Linked DNA regions of Homo sapiens: all the other regions are linked to region 2. The links are contacts of gene promoters, found by promoter capture Hi-C in blood cells and fetal thymus (Javierre and others, 2016). All regions are on one chromosome and are shown on one strand. Each heading gives the region's core, a stretch centred on a gene start or on the middle of the fragment in contact. The rest is flanking DNA. Distances are from core to core; before and after follow the strand shown.

What was found. The method cuts DNA at HindIII sites, captures the fragments that hold promoters and counts their contacts. A CHiCAGO score of 5 or more calls a contact.
Region 1: a contact is called between a fragment that was not itself captured here and the fragment with the promoter of DNAJC21 in region 2, in 1 of 17 cell types (naive B cells). The highest score is 5.9, in naive B cells.
Region 3: a contact is called between a fragment that was not itself captured here and the fragment with the promoter of DNAJC21 in region 2, in 4 of 17 cell types (neutrophils, naive CD4 T cells, naive B cells and 1 more). The highest score is 16.6, in neutrophils.

The regions. Positions count from the first base shown.
Region 1 is chr5:32,607,878-32,611,877 of GRCh38, forward strand. No RefSeq gene overlaps it. Among named protein-coding and RNA genes, the nearest start is that of SUB1, 24 kb to the left of the region's middle. The HindIII fragment of the contact is 4,330 bases long and covers 380-4,000 here.
Region 2 is chr5:34,927,694-34,931,745 of GRCh38, forward strand. It overlaps DNAJC21 (DnaJ heat shock protein family (Hsp40) member C21), which reads left to right and starts at 1,866. Exons shown (of 12, transcript NM_001012339.3): 1 at 1,866-2,223. The coding sequence starts at 2,127. It overlaps LOC124900961 (a long non-coding RNA gene), which reads right to left and starts at 1,988. Exons shown (of 2, transcript XR_007058731.1): 1 at 1,956-1,988; 2 at 1-1,440. RefSeq lists silencers at 1,542-2,011, 2,022-2,091, 2,122-2,321 and enhancers at 2,350-2,995, 2,462-2,631. The HindIII fragment of the contact is 5,598 bases long and covers 781-4,052 here.
Region 3 is chr5:32,578,908-32,583,269 of GRCh38, forward strand. No RefSeq gene overlaps it. Among named protein-coding and RNA genes, the nearest start is that of SUB1, 4.5 kb to the right of the region's middle. RefSeq lists an enhancer at 3,061-3,120. The HindIII fragment of the contact is 2,334 bases long and covers 1,552-3,885 here.

The DNA of each region.
Region 1 (4,000 bases), core at 1,295-3,794, 2.3 Mb before region 2:
GTGACCAGTAAATTCAGAGGGTTTCCACAATCCCCTTCTCACATTTGATAATTGACTGGAACCATTCACACAACTCAGGAAAGCACTTTATTCACAATTACAGGTTTATTATAAAGGATAAAACTCAGGAACAGCCAAATGGGAGAGATGCCCAGGGCAAGGTATGGGGAAGGGAGATGGAGCTCTGTGCCTTCTCTGGGAGCACCACTCTCCCAGCACCTTACTATGTCACCAACTTAAGTCTCTGAGCCCCATCATTTAGGGTGTTTTTATAGAGATTCCATTACACGTGATTGATTAAATTTTTAGCCATTGGTGATTAACAGTCCTCACTTCCTCACCCATCCCCAGAGGTTGGGAGGTGGAGCTGAAAATTCTAAGCTTCTAATCAAAGTTTCATCTTTCTAGCAACCAGTCCCCATCCTGAAGCTGTCTAGGGGCCCTGCCAAGAGTCCCTCATTTGAACAAAAGATCCTACTATCACTTTTAACTCAAGAAATTAGGTTTTAGGAGCTCTGTGCCAGGAACCAGGGACAAAGACCAAGTATCTCTGATGCCACTTAGGCATACATGTTTACACACATACATACATGTGTATACATCTATACAATTTTTTGGATGAATATTTGAAAGTAAACTGCAGGCATATTTCATTTTAAGTACTTCAATATGTATTTCCTAGGAATGGAAAGATACTTTAACATTTTTTTAATGGAAAATAATCATATTTTGCAAAACAAAATTATGAGTGACATTATTTTACATTTTACCAATCTCTTTAATAGAACATGGCTGGATTCTCCTGTTTGCTTCTGCAGATAATCTTTTGTTTGGGTTGAGGTATGTGAAGAAAATGTGGCCTCACAGAGATGTGTAGTTGGAAAAGGGAGGAATACTTTATTATTTTTTTTTTCTGAGACAGTTTCGCTTTTGTTGCCCAGGCACCATCTGGGCTCACTGCAACCTCCACCTCCCGGGTTCAAGCGATTCTCATACCTCAGCCTGCAAAGTAGGTGAGATTACAGGCGTATGGCACCATGCCCGGCTAATTTTTGTATTTTTAGTAGAGACAGGGTTTCACCATGTTGGCTAGACTGATCTCGAATTCCTGAGCTTAAGTGATCTGCCTGCCTCAGCCACTCAAAGTGCTGGGATTACAGGCATGAGCCACTGTGCCTGGCACAGGAATACTTTAATAGCCTTTCCAGGTAATTGTGGGTATCCTTTGATAACAACCACAAAATTTGACAAGTGGTAGTTTCTTAAAAGTTGTAGTATGTAATTTCCCCTTGAAAACTTGAATTTCATCATTGACAACACATGCTGTCAGTTGTTTTTTTTTGAAGTGATAGGCTCAGTTTGTTTGTTTCTGAGAAATTGTCTGCCAAATCCACAGGTCTGAACAACGACAATTTGTCAATCTTGGAAGTTAAAATGGTGCTCCGTGCAAAGTGCCGCTAGTTCAGTTCACACTCCAAACAGTTCTGCCGGTGCTTTTCCTTGAGACTGCCTTGGAACCTCAATGTGCATTTCCCAAGAGTAAAGACATTCTTCTACCTAGCCTCAATATTATCACAACTTAAAACATCAATAATTTTATCAACTATTCAGTCCGTAGTAAGTTTCCCCAGTTCCCAAAAATGTTCATTTCTTCTCCCAATGCAGTGTCTTGATGAAAATTCATGCTGTTCATTTGGTTATCAGTCTCTTTTAATCTAGAATTATTCCCTACTATTTTGTTTTCCACGACATTGACCTTTTGTAAGAGTCCAGGCCACTTGTAGTATGTCCCATATTCTAGATTTGTCTGTTTCCTCATGGCTCAGTTCAGGTTAAATGTCTTTTGCAAGAATGCTACATAGGAGATGCTGTACCTACCGCACCACACCAGAAGGTACATCAGGCCAGGTTGTTTCACAACTGGTCATGTGAATTTTGATCACTAAGTTATTTAAAATGGTGATTGCCCGTTCTTTTTTTTTTTTTTTTTTTTTTTTTTGAGACAGAGTCTTGCTCTGTCTCCCAGGCTGGAGTGCGGTGGTGCGATCTCGGCTCACTGCAAGCTCCGCCTCCTGGGTTCACGCCATTCTCCTGCCTCAGCCTCCTGAGTAGCTGGGACTACAGGCGCCCACCACCACACCCGGCTACTTTTTTTGTATTTTTAGTAGAGACGGGGTTTCACCATGTTAGCCAGGATGGTCTTGATCTCCTGACCTCGTGATCCGCCCACCTCGGCCTCCCAAAGTGCTGGGATTACAGGTGTGAGCCACCGTGCCCGGCCTTGCCCGTTCTATTTTATTTTATTTATTATCATTATTTTGTGAGACAGAGTTTCACTCTGTCACCCAGGCTGAAGTGCAGTATTGTGATCTCGGCTAACTGTACCGTCTGCCTCCTGGGTTCAAGTGATTCATGTGCCTCAGCCTCCCGAGTAGCTGGGATGACAGGCGTGCACTACCATGCTTGGCTAAATTTTGGCATTTTTAGTAGAGATGGGGTTTTGCCATGTTGACCAGGCTGGTCTTGAACTCCTGGCCTCAAGTGATCCACCTGCCTCGGCCTGCCGAAGTGCTGGGATTACAGGCGTGAGCTACTGTGCCCCCGGCCACAAATAAAAATTTTTTACTCTCAAGGAGCATTCAGTCTATTTCATTCTTTGAAAAGCATGTAAGTTTTGGGAGCCTAGCATGGAAGGGAGTGATGGTTCCAGTGCGTTGGTAGTGGAGACTGCCTTTTGGTCATCTTGGGCTTCTCATGCCATTGAATTAGTAGGGAAATAAGGAGGTGATTGTGGTGTTTGAGTTCATTGATCTTGATTGTCTGAGGGAAATTGGACTGTTTGTTCCTACACAGTGGTGGCAAGGAGAGTGATGTTTGGAAACCAGGGGGTTTACTGGTGACTGTGCTCCCTTAACCAGTTGTCTTGAAGGAAAAACTTCAACCCGTAAATAGAAGACCTCCAAAGACTCACTGTAAGAATGAAGGTTTTGTACTTTTCATCTGGTAAAGAACCCTGGCCCAGCAAAGGTGCTGGAGGAGGCTAACTGGAACTCGGAATGGGCAGAGGGCAAAGGCAGCTAAGATGACCAATACAGACCTCACAGAAGTCAGGATTGTCACAACAGTGTTTTATGTCATTTAAGTGTTTCTCCTCTCTTTTCTCTGAAATAAGTTAAATGAATAACACCAATGCTGGCTAAAGTTTTAGGCTGTGGAGTATGAGAACAACTTGTATTGAAGTAGTAGTTGGTGGAACATTGATCCTGCCCCGTATTGGGAACTCAATCTTTCCACCAGGTGAAGGACAAGAGATGATGCTGAAGGCAAAAGGCTCGGATGGTGCCATATATGTATATATTTTATCTGTTCCCCTAGATATTCCATCTATTCCCCTAGATCCAGTCTTACCCTGCGCTCTGTCCTGGGAGGCTGGGATGTTTGGTTGGGTTTGGTTCATGGTGAAAGGAGAGTTTGGTGGGGTAGGGTCACCTTAGGTTGGCTGTGTTTCTTAAAAACTCCTCTCAAGGTGACTTCCTCTATGTGAGTTTCTTATGGGTTCCAGCAGCTACTCGGTCCCTACAACTTTCAACTGTGGGATGTTTAGTTCCTCTGTTACTACTGGTTACCCTTTTGTTTTCCTAAGCCTTCACTCACACCTTTGTAAATAATATATTTTAATAAATTTTACTCCTTGAATTGGCATAATTCGAGTGTGTCTTTTCAGGTTGGGAGCTTGACTAATAATGGACAAATAAGATTAGCAGAGACAACTATTACGGATTAGGATTAAAAACCTCTGTTACCTAGTTCTGTAGATTAAAGTCAAAGATGAATGTCTTCAAACTTTGTGCAAAAGAACTTCACTTGGTTATTTTTAATGTGTTTGGTCTTTCTTGCCCTATGAGGCCTCTAAAAACAGTCATGGCAGTGACCAGAAACAACTGTTAAAATCATCAACTAGCAAAAAAATCCAAGAAAGAAGGGATCTTCACAGTTTGAC
Region 2 (4,052 bases), core at 616-3,115:
ATTCTTCTGGAATGGATCATCTCTAAAGTCTGGTCATTTAAAGGGCACCAGTTTAATAAAAGATGTTCCTTTATTTATTAGCGGCAGGGTCTTGCTCTGTCACCCAGGGCTGTAGTGTGGTGGTGTGGTCATAGCTCACTGCAGGCTCTAACTCCTGGGCTCAAGTATTCCTGCCTCAGCCTCCTGAGTAACTAGGACTACAGGCCCACGCCACCATGCCTGGCTTTTTTTTTTTTTTGTAGAGACAAGTTCTCGCTATGTTGCCCAGGCTCGTCTTGAACTCTTGGGCTGAAGGGATCCTCCTGCCTCGGCTTCCCAAAGTGCTGGGATTACAGGCATGAGCCACCACGCCTGGTCAAGATGTTCCTTTAGACTGAAATTTATATCCAGCATAGTTACCTTTAATTATACAATGTTACAGGCAAAAATCCTTCTTACTTCAGAAGGTAAAAGAAGTAAGTGATTCCTACAGGCTGTATCCAAAACCAAATCAAGTTGGAGGGAGAAAATACTCCAAATTAAGTTGGAGGGAAAAAAATACTTTCCCTTTCCGTTTTTTTTTTTTTTTTTGTCCCTCCCTTCCCCCCGCCCACCATCCCAATTCTGTTCTCAGGAGGGGAAAGGTTTCATTCTCCCCCAAACTCAGACTTCTCAATCCTTATCCATTACCAATTTACCAACTAACTGAGACTGTGTAGAATCTTCCTCTGGAAAAAAGGGAAGTGTATGAATTCTGAGTAGTGAGTTGGTTGGTCAGTGGCGTGTGAAGTAACCTGATGAAGCTTAGCGTGGGTTTTTTATTTTACTGGGGGCAGCATATTGGGGAAGAGAAGGATAACCTTACTAAACCGCTTGGGTACGCCAACCCTGTGCAATAGATATTAGCAACATAGCTAACCATACATGGTTAGTAAATACAACCCACACCTAACTGATGCATGTAAACATTCCACATTACAGTGAAATATATTGGTGTATTAATGCATTTTAATAATTATGGTATTATTTTGATACCTTTCAAAGTGTTTGGAATAATTGTGCAGATAGTCAGATCAACCAAAACCTACCAGTTAAATACTATCCTTTAACTGCTTTCTTAACCTAAACCAATCTTGGAAAGGTAGGATTAGAGGCCAGAAAGTTAGGATTAAAGTGTGTTGGATGGATAGATCAGCACAATTTCATCCATGTTGGTGGTAAGGCTTTTCATTAAGTGTGTTGATGCTTCCCTTTTAAATTGTTTCCGCTTAAATAATCTAACTGTCCTTTCTCAAGCATATTGGTCAAGATGATCAATACCAGATATCTTAAGTGGCAGCTGAAGAGAATTAAAGAGATTAAAAAAAAAACCTGATATTCAGTCCAACCGAATTCTGCTACTGTATTAGCTGAGGAGGCTTGAGCCAACCACTTGACCACTTGGAGTCTGAATCGCCTTATCTATAAAAACGGGGATCCATTGAGAAATTATAATCAGATATTTTCCAGAATCCTCTCCCATCCCAGCTCCTATCTCCCCCTTCAGCCCTCAGGTCGGCTGCCACTCACACTGACCGCCATCTGTGCCCCTCACAATGACACCAGCGTGGCCCTGCCTCCCTTCCGCGCGGCCCCGCCTCTCGCCCCGCCGAGGCCCCGCCTCTCACACCAAGGTCCCGCCTTCCTCCTGTTCTTCCCGGCCAAGGCCTACCTTCCTCCCACGCGGCCCGCCTCTTTCCCCGCCAAGCTCCCGCCTTTCTCCTGCGCGGCCCGCCTCTCTCCTCGCCAAGGCCCCGCCTTCCTTCCTCGGGGCCTCGCCTCTCACCCCGCCGAGGCCCCACCCCCTCCCGCGCGGCCCTTTCCGGCACAGAGCCCACCCCTAGCCCATGCGAAGCGGCGGCCGCCGGCACCGCCCCCGCCGCGCTCCCGCTTGCCGCAGCCTGCGTCGTCTGCCGCCACCGCGCGCCTTCACTGACCTACACCACCGCCGCCGCCGCCGCCGCCGCCGGGCTCGCTGGCTGGCCCGGTGCGGGCGGCGGACTCCCGCCGGAGAGGACTGCCAGCGCCGCCGCCGCCGCCGCTTCGGCCCGGGCCCGGGCCCCGACCCCGTCCCGGGCCCCAGCGCCGGCCGCCCGCCCGGTCGGGCGATGAAGTGTCACTATGAGGCGCTGGGGGTGCGGCGCGACGCCAGCGAGGAGGAGCTCAAGAAGGCCTATCGGAAGCTGGCCCTGAAATGGCACCCGGGTAAGTACCTGTCCCGCAGCCCCCGCGGCCACTCGGAGAAGCCCGGCCCTCCCCGACCTTCCCTTCCCCCGGGCGGACTCCGCGGAGCCAGCAGAGAGGGACCTGGCGGCCTAGGAGCTCCTTGCCCCGCCCGGCCAGTGCCCGGAGCCGCCCTGCCCGTCTCGGTGGGCGAAGCGCTCTGCCCTGGCGCACCCCGGCTCACACCCCATCTCCTCATACCCGCGACCCCGGCCCCGCATCGCCACTGTAGGGGGAAAACTGCAGTCCAACAACCTCACTTGCTCCCGCTACCGGGTCGCAGACACCACGAGGGAGCAGTCGGGAACTCGGAACTCAGACCTGCCCCAGGCTTGCTTTTCCCTGCGTCCCTTGCAGCGCAGCCTCTCGGTGTTTTTCCTCCGCTGCCCTCCACCTCGTCCGGGAATCCCAGATACTTCAACCTGATGTATGGCTCTTTTCGTTTCTTAGTTAAGAAGTTAAGACACGGGAGCTAGTAAAATATCTTTTCAATAGGGATGCGCTTTTTTCGCTGTTTTTTTTTTCTTTTAATAAGCTGTTTAAGCAGACCTTGTACTTCACTTTGGACATGATTCTGCCGGGGAAGGTTTTAATCAGGCGGCTTCCCCAGTAAAGTTTGTATGTTTACTTAGAAGTATCCTTCCTTTGGATGTTTCATTGGTCTGTAATCCAGGCCTGTGTGACTTTTATGAAGTAATCTGATCTTCCAGGCTGGGAAACTAAGAGAGTAGTTGACTTTCAGCTTTTTGAGGTTCATATGAAGAGGCTTTCATATTAGCATTCATCAGTAAACACGGTTACAGAGTATCCAATATATGCAAGTCACTGCACTCTACTAAGTAGATTTGGAAATGCTGAGACAGGGGTCTTAGAGTCTTGTTAGGAAAACAACTTTCTGCCTTACACAAATGAAAAGTTAAATACAACTGCCAGAAAAAAATCGCAACATACATAATTGGTGGTTAGATTAATGGAACAACTAATATATGCTCCAGGAATTCAGGGAGGGAGTTACCATTTTGTATTGAGTCTTCCCCTTCTCAGAGGAGTTTGGACTGGATCGTAGAGGAATGCAATTTGGAAAAGTGAACTCAACAGTATGGAGGATAGCATGGTGGAGGACAAAAGATGTTCCGGGGGACAGTTTGACTGAAGGTGGTGTGTATTGCAGGTCTGAAAAATAGGGATTATGAGAGGAGTGGAAGGAAAGGTCAGGGACCCAAAGTCAAAAGGGAATGGCTATGGTGATGGAGTGAGAGATAGAGGTGTGGGTCTGTTACTTAAAGTTATGCTTACCAACAGAGGCGTGAAAAAATGTGATTATAAATATATTAGAAGAGCAGAAGTAAATGAACTGATGTTCATCATAGCAGTAAGTCAGAAGATACAGCCAAAATTAATAAATGTAAAAATAGTGTAGAAGTATATTCTTAGAGTTTGGGTTAGTGTAGAAGCATATTCTTAGGAGTTTGGGTTGTTACTGTTAGAAATCAAGTTAGGAATTAGAAGGAAGTTCGGAATTCCTTGACTTTCTAGGTGGGAAAGGGTAAATGAAGTAGCGAATGCTGTGACCAAAAGCGTATGTAATTTTCTGAAGAGTGATTTTAAATCAGATTGTATTTCTTGAGTACAAGAGTAGTTTGAAATCAGATTGTATTTCTTGTAATCTTGAATATTAGCCCAAGGACTGTGAAATTTGCTTCGCTAAATAAGGGAGAGTTGTGGCTGGTTTTATTAAGCTGCCATGGGAGAGTACTATGAAGGCAACTTAGTGGATTGAAGAGGGCTGGAGACAGAAGTTAGGGAGAGTC
Region 3 (4,362 bases), core at 1,469-3,968, 2.3 Mb before region 2:
GATGACCAGCATTACCACTATAACTGCTGACAGAGGAATTTCACTCTGTTTGTTTTTGACTGCCATTGTTGGCTTTCTGATCTGGGATTATGTCTCATTGAAGCCAAGCCTACATAACACCAGGTGAACACTGTTGCTGGTTTCTTCCTCTCTGTCTCTAGGCCTAACACTCCAGGGTTTAGCAGGGCAGGAAAGGAAGAAGGAAAATTATTTTTCCCAGCTTCTTCAAAGCCTGTGAAGCAAGGATTTTTTTTTTTTTAAGACAGAGTCTTGCTCTGTCAGCCAGGCTGGAGTGCAGTGGTGTGATCTCAGCTCACAGCAACTTCACCCTCTCTCAGCTCACAGCAACTTCACCCTCTGAGGTTCAGGGGATTCTCCTGCCTCAGCCTCCCAGATAGCTGGGATTACAGGCATGTGCCACCACACCCAGCTAATTTTTGTATTTTTTAGTAGAGATGGGGTTTTGCCGTGTTGGCCAGGCTGGTCTTGAACTCCTGGCCTCAAGTGATCCACCTGCCTCAGCCTCCCAAAGTGCTGGGATTACAGGTGTGAGCCACCGAGCCCCACCCACAAGGCTTTTTATGCCTTAACTTTTTCTCACATCACTGCATCTGATGGATATAACTCACACCCTACAAAGAGTAGGTGCTCCCTGTGTCTCCTCTTGGGGAGAGTGTATATTGCCCCGTCTTAGTCTGCTGTAATAGAAATAACATAGACTGGGTGGCTTAAACAACACTTATTTTATTCAATTGTGGAGGCTGAGAAGTCCAAGATCAAGGTGCCTGCATATCTGGTGAGGGCCCACTTTCTGGTTTGCAGATGACTGCCTTCTTGTTGTATCTTTACATGGCAGAGAACAGAGACAGAATAATTAAGCTCTCTCTTGTCTCTTCTCATAACAGCATGAATCTATTTATGAGGGTTCCACCCTTATGACTAAGTATGCCCCAAAGTCCCCACCTATAATACCATCCCACTGGGATTAAGGGTTCAACATATGAATCTGGGGGAAAACACAAGCATTCAATCCATAACAACCCTCTTACCTTGTACTGTCTCCCTTCCCAGTTCTTCAGACTCACTAAACTGGAGGATGCCCAGGTTTTTGTTTTATTTGTTTTCTCTTTTGCATGTATGATCCACATGGCCCCATCCTAGGTGTTCCTAAAACCTCTAGACATCCAGAGCCACCATATCTTTTAATATCCAAATTGAATGGTTGGTGCTACCATTCCATGTGCCGTGGGACCTCCAGAATTCTTAAGTTTTCCCAAAATAACCTGGAAGGAGTTATGTTCTCCTAGTCATTCACGCTGTGATCTGCTTTCCTGCTTTAGCCTGGAGGTTAAACCAGAGGCGGCTGACCTCCCTAGGTGCCCACCACATCCCTGGCACATAAGCCTGTTCCTCTCCCTTTCTTTCTTGTTTCCTCTTCTTTGTATATTACTGGTATGTCTCTTGTGCTACAAACTCAGGCTCTCAGGAAATGTGACTTTCTTCATTTTCTTATGATTGTGTTTAATGATCACCATTTCACCTAGTGGTAAAAGCTTAATTGTGGCCAATTTCAGGTCAAACTCATAATTTCTCCCTTTCCCCCTTTCTCTCCTAAATTCTGGACAGAGGTGGGGTAGGATTACATGGTGTCAGAGCACTAAGGGTAGTGGTAGAGTCTGGCCCATTTTCCCCATCTGTCCATGACAGCCGCATTAGTCTGTTCTCGCATTGCTATAAAGATTTACCTGAGACTGGGCAACTTATAAAGAAAAGAGGTTTAATTAGTTCATGGTTCCACAGGCTGTGCAGGAAGCATGGCTGGAGAGGCCTCAGGAAACTTACAATCATGGTTGAAGGAGAAGGGGAAGCAGGCACATCCTACGTTGCTGGAGCAGGAGGAAGAGAGACAAGGGGGAGGAGCTACACACTGTTTTTTTTTTTCGTTTGTTTTGTTTTTTAGATGGAGTCTCGCTCTGTCGCCAGGCTGGAGTGCAGTGGCATGATCTCGGCTCACTGCAACCTCCGACTCCCTGGTTCAAGTGATTCTCCTGCCTCAGCCTCCCAAGTAGCTGGGATTACAGGCATGTGCCACCATTCCCAGCTAATTTTTGTAGTTTTAGTAGAGACAGGGTTTCACCATGTTGGCAAGAATGGTCTCGATCTCCTGACCTCGTGATCCACCCTCCTTAGCCTCCCAAAGTGTTGGGATTACAGGCATGAGCCACTGTGCCCGGCCGGTGCTACACACTTCTAAACAACCAGATCTCGTGAGAATTCACTCACTATTACGAGAACAGCAAGAGGGAGATCTGCCCCCAGGATCCAATCACTTCCCACCAGCCCCCTCCTCCAACATTGGGGATTACAACTCAACATGAGATTTGGGCAGGGACACAGATGGAGACCGTATCATTGGCCTTTGCTTAACAGTTCATCTTGTCTGATTCTTGATCCTTCTCACTTCTTCACACTGGTATTTGTTGAGATGTCCTTTGTTACAGCACTCTATGCAAGTTGAGGGTGGTGAGATTTCCTCTTCCTCACTGCAAGTCCTCCCCAGGTCTGCTGGCTGTCACTGACACATCTGTGCCACTCTTGGCCAAAGAGAAAGACATTCCCCTGAATGCTGCAGTACCCTGGGGCATCTCTGAACTCGGTGAGGAAGCCTGAGGTCGGCCATCCTGACACACCACACAGATATCTCTACCCCAACTCTGTGGTGGAGGGAGGGGCGCTTGGGTTGCAGAGGAGCTCGGAGAGCTCGGCTGCCTGGAAAGCAAGGCACCAGTTTGCTTTGCTCTCTCAGATCCCTAAGCCCTCTGGGAATTTGATGCTTCCTTCCTTCCCCAGGGCTGGTGTGGGGACAGACAGCAGAACTACTTCTCTACTCCTTAGACACTGAAGAGGGGCCTCATCTCCTTTCTCTTCTGACTCCTCCCTTTCACAGTTGCAATAATCTCTACAGGCGAGTGGGGTGGGCTAAAAGGAACTATTTTTGTTTGTTTGTTTTTGAGACAGGGTCTCAAAAACACCCAGGCTGTCACCCAGGCTGGAATGAATGCAGTGGCGCACTCATGGCTCACTGCAGCCTCGACCTCTCAGGCTCAAGCAATCCTCCTGCCTCAGCCTCCTGAGTAGCTGAGACTACAGGAACTTACCACTACACCCAGCTGATTTTTTTCTTTTTCTTTTTCTTTTTCTTTTTTTTTTTTTGAGATGGAGTCTGTCTCTGTCACCAGGCTGGAGTGCGGTGGCATGATCTTGACTCACTGCAACCTCTGCCTCCTGGGTTCAAGCGATTCTCCTGCCTCAGCCTCCTGAGTAGCTGGGACTACAGGCACGCACCATCACGCCCAGCTAATTTTTGTATTTTTAGTAGAGACGGGGTTTCACCATGTTGGCCAGGATGGTCTCGATCTCCTGACCTCGTGATCCACCCACCTGGACCTCCCAAAGTGCTGGGATTACAGGCGTGAGCCGCTGTGCCTGGCCCATTTTTTTGTATTTTTTGTAGAGACAGGGTCTCACTATGTTGTCCAGGCTGGTCTGCAACTCCTGGGCTCCAGTGATCCACCCACCTCGGCCTCCCAAATTGCTGGGATTACAGGCAGGATCCACAGCACCCAGCCAGAAAAAAACTTTAATAGCACATTACCTTAAATCTGTAATTTATGCCTGGAATCCTAATAGTTTAAAAAAGTCAAAAGCCAAGAATCTGGTCTGTGTGTTCTGGTCTAACATCCTTCTTCTAGTCAAATGCTGTAGCTGAGAAAACGGGGGATGGGGAAAGAGTGAAGGTCAGAAAGCAGGAAGTGCTAGTAACAAAAGCCACATTGGGTAAGATTTCAAAATAATATCCTGATACTTGAATAAGCCTTTTTCGGAAGCTTTGAAAGAAGTGAGTAACGGAGGGTGTCGACAGCATAAGGCCTTGGAGGGAACCGCATTAACAGTCCCGTGCCATACTCCAGGCCTCCAGGAACTTCTTCCTGGCAGTCTCCTCCTCAAGCTCTGTCCCTTTCATAGTTTGTGAGCTATTTCCCTTCTCAGCCCTACTTCCCAGTCTACCTCCCTTTCTGGGACACCTACAGATTCTCCAAATTCAGCACATTCCTTTTTGTGCCACCCTCTTCTTCCAGACCAAGGCTTGGAGTGGAAAGTGGGAGTTCTTTCACTTTTAAAGATGCCCTCTAGGAATTTGCCTATAAAAGGAGCTATTCCCCACCCCACAATGTACAAATGCATGTGAATTACACCTCCTTCCCATTCTATTATTTGAAAGCAACTGCTGTCTTTTTTTTTTTTTTTTTGAGACGGAGTTTCGCTCTTGTTGCCTAGGCTGGAGTGCAATGGGTGTGATCT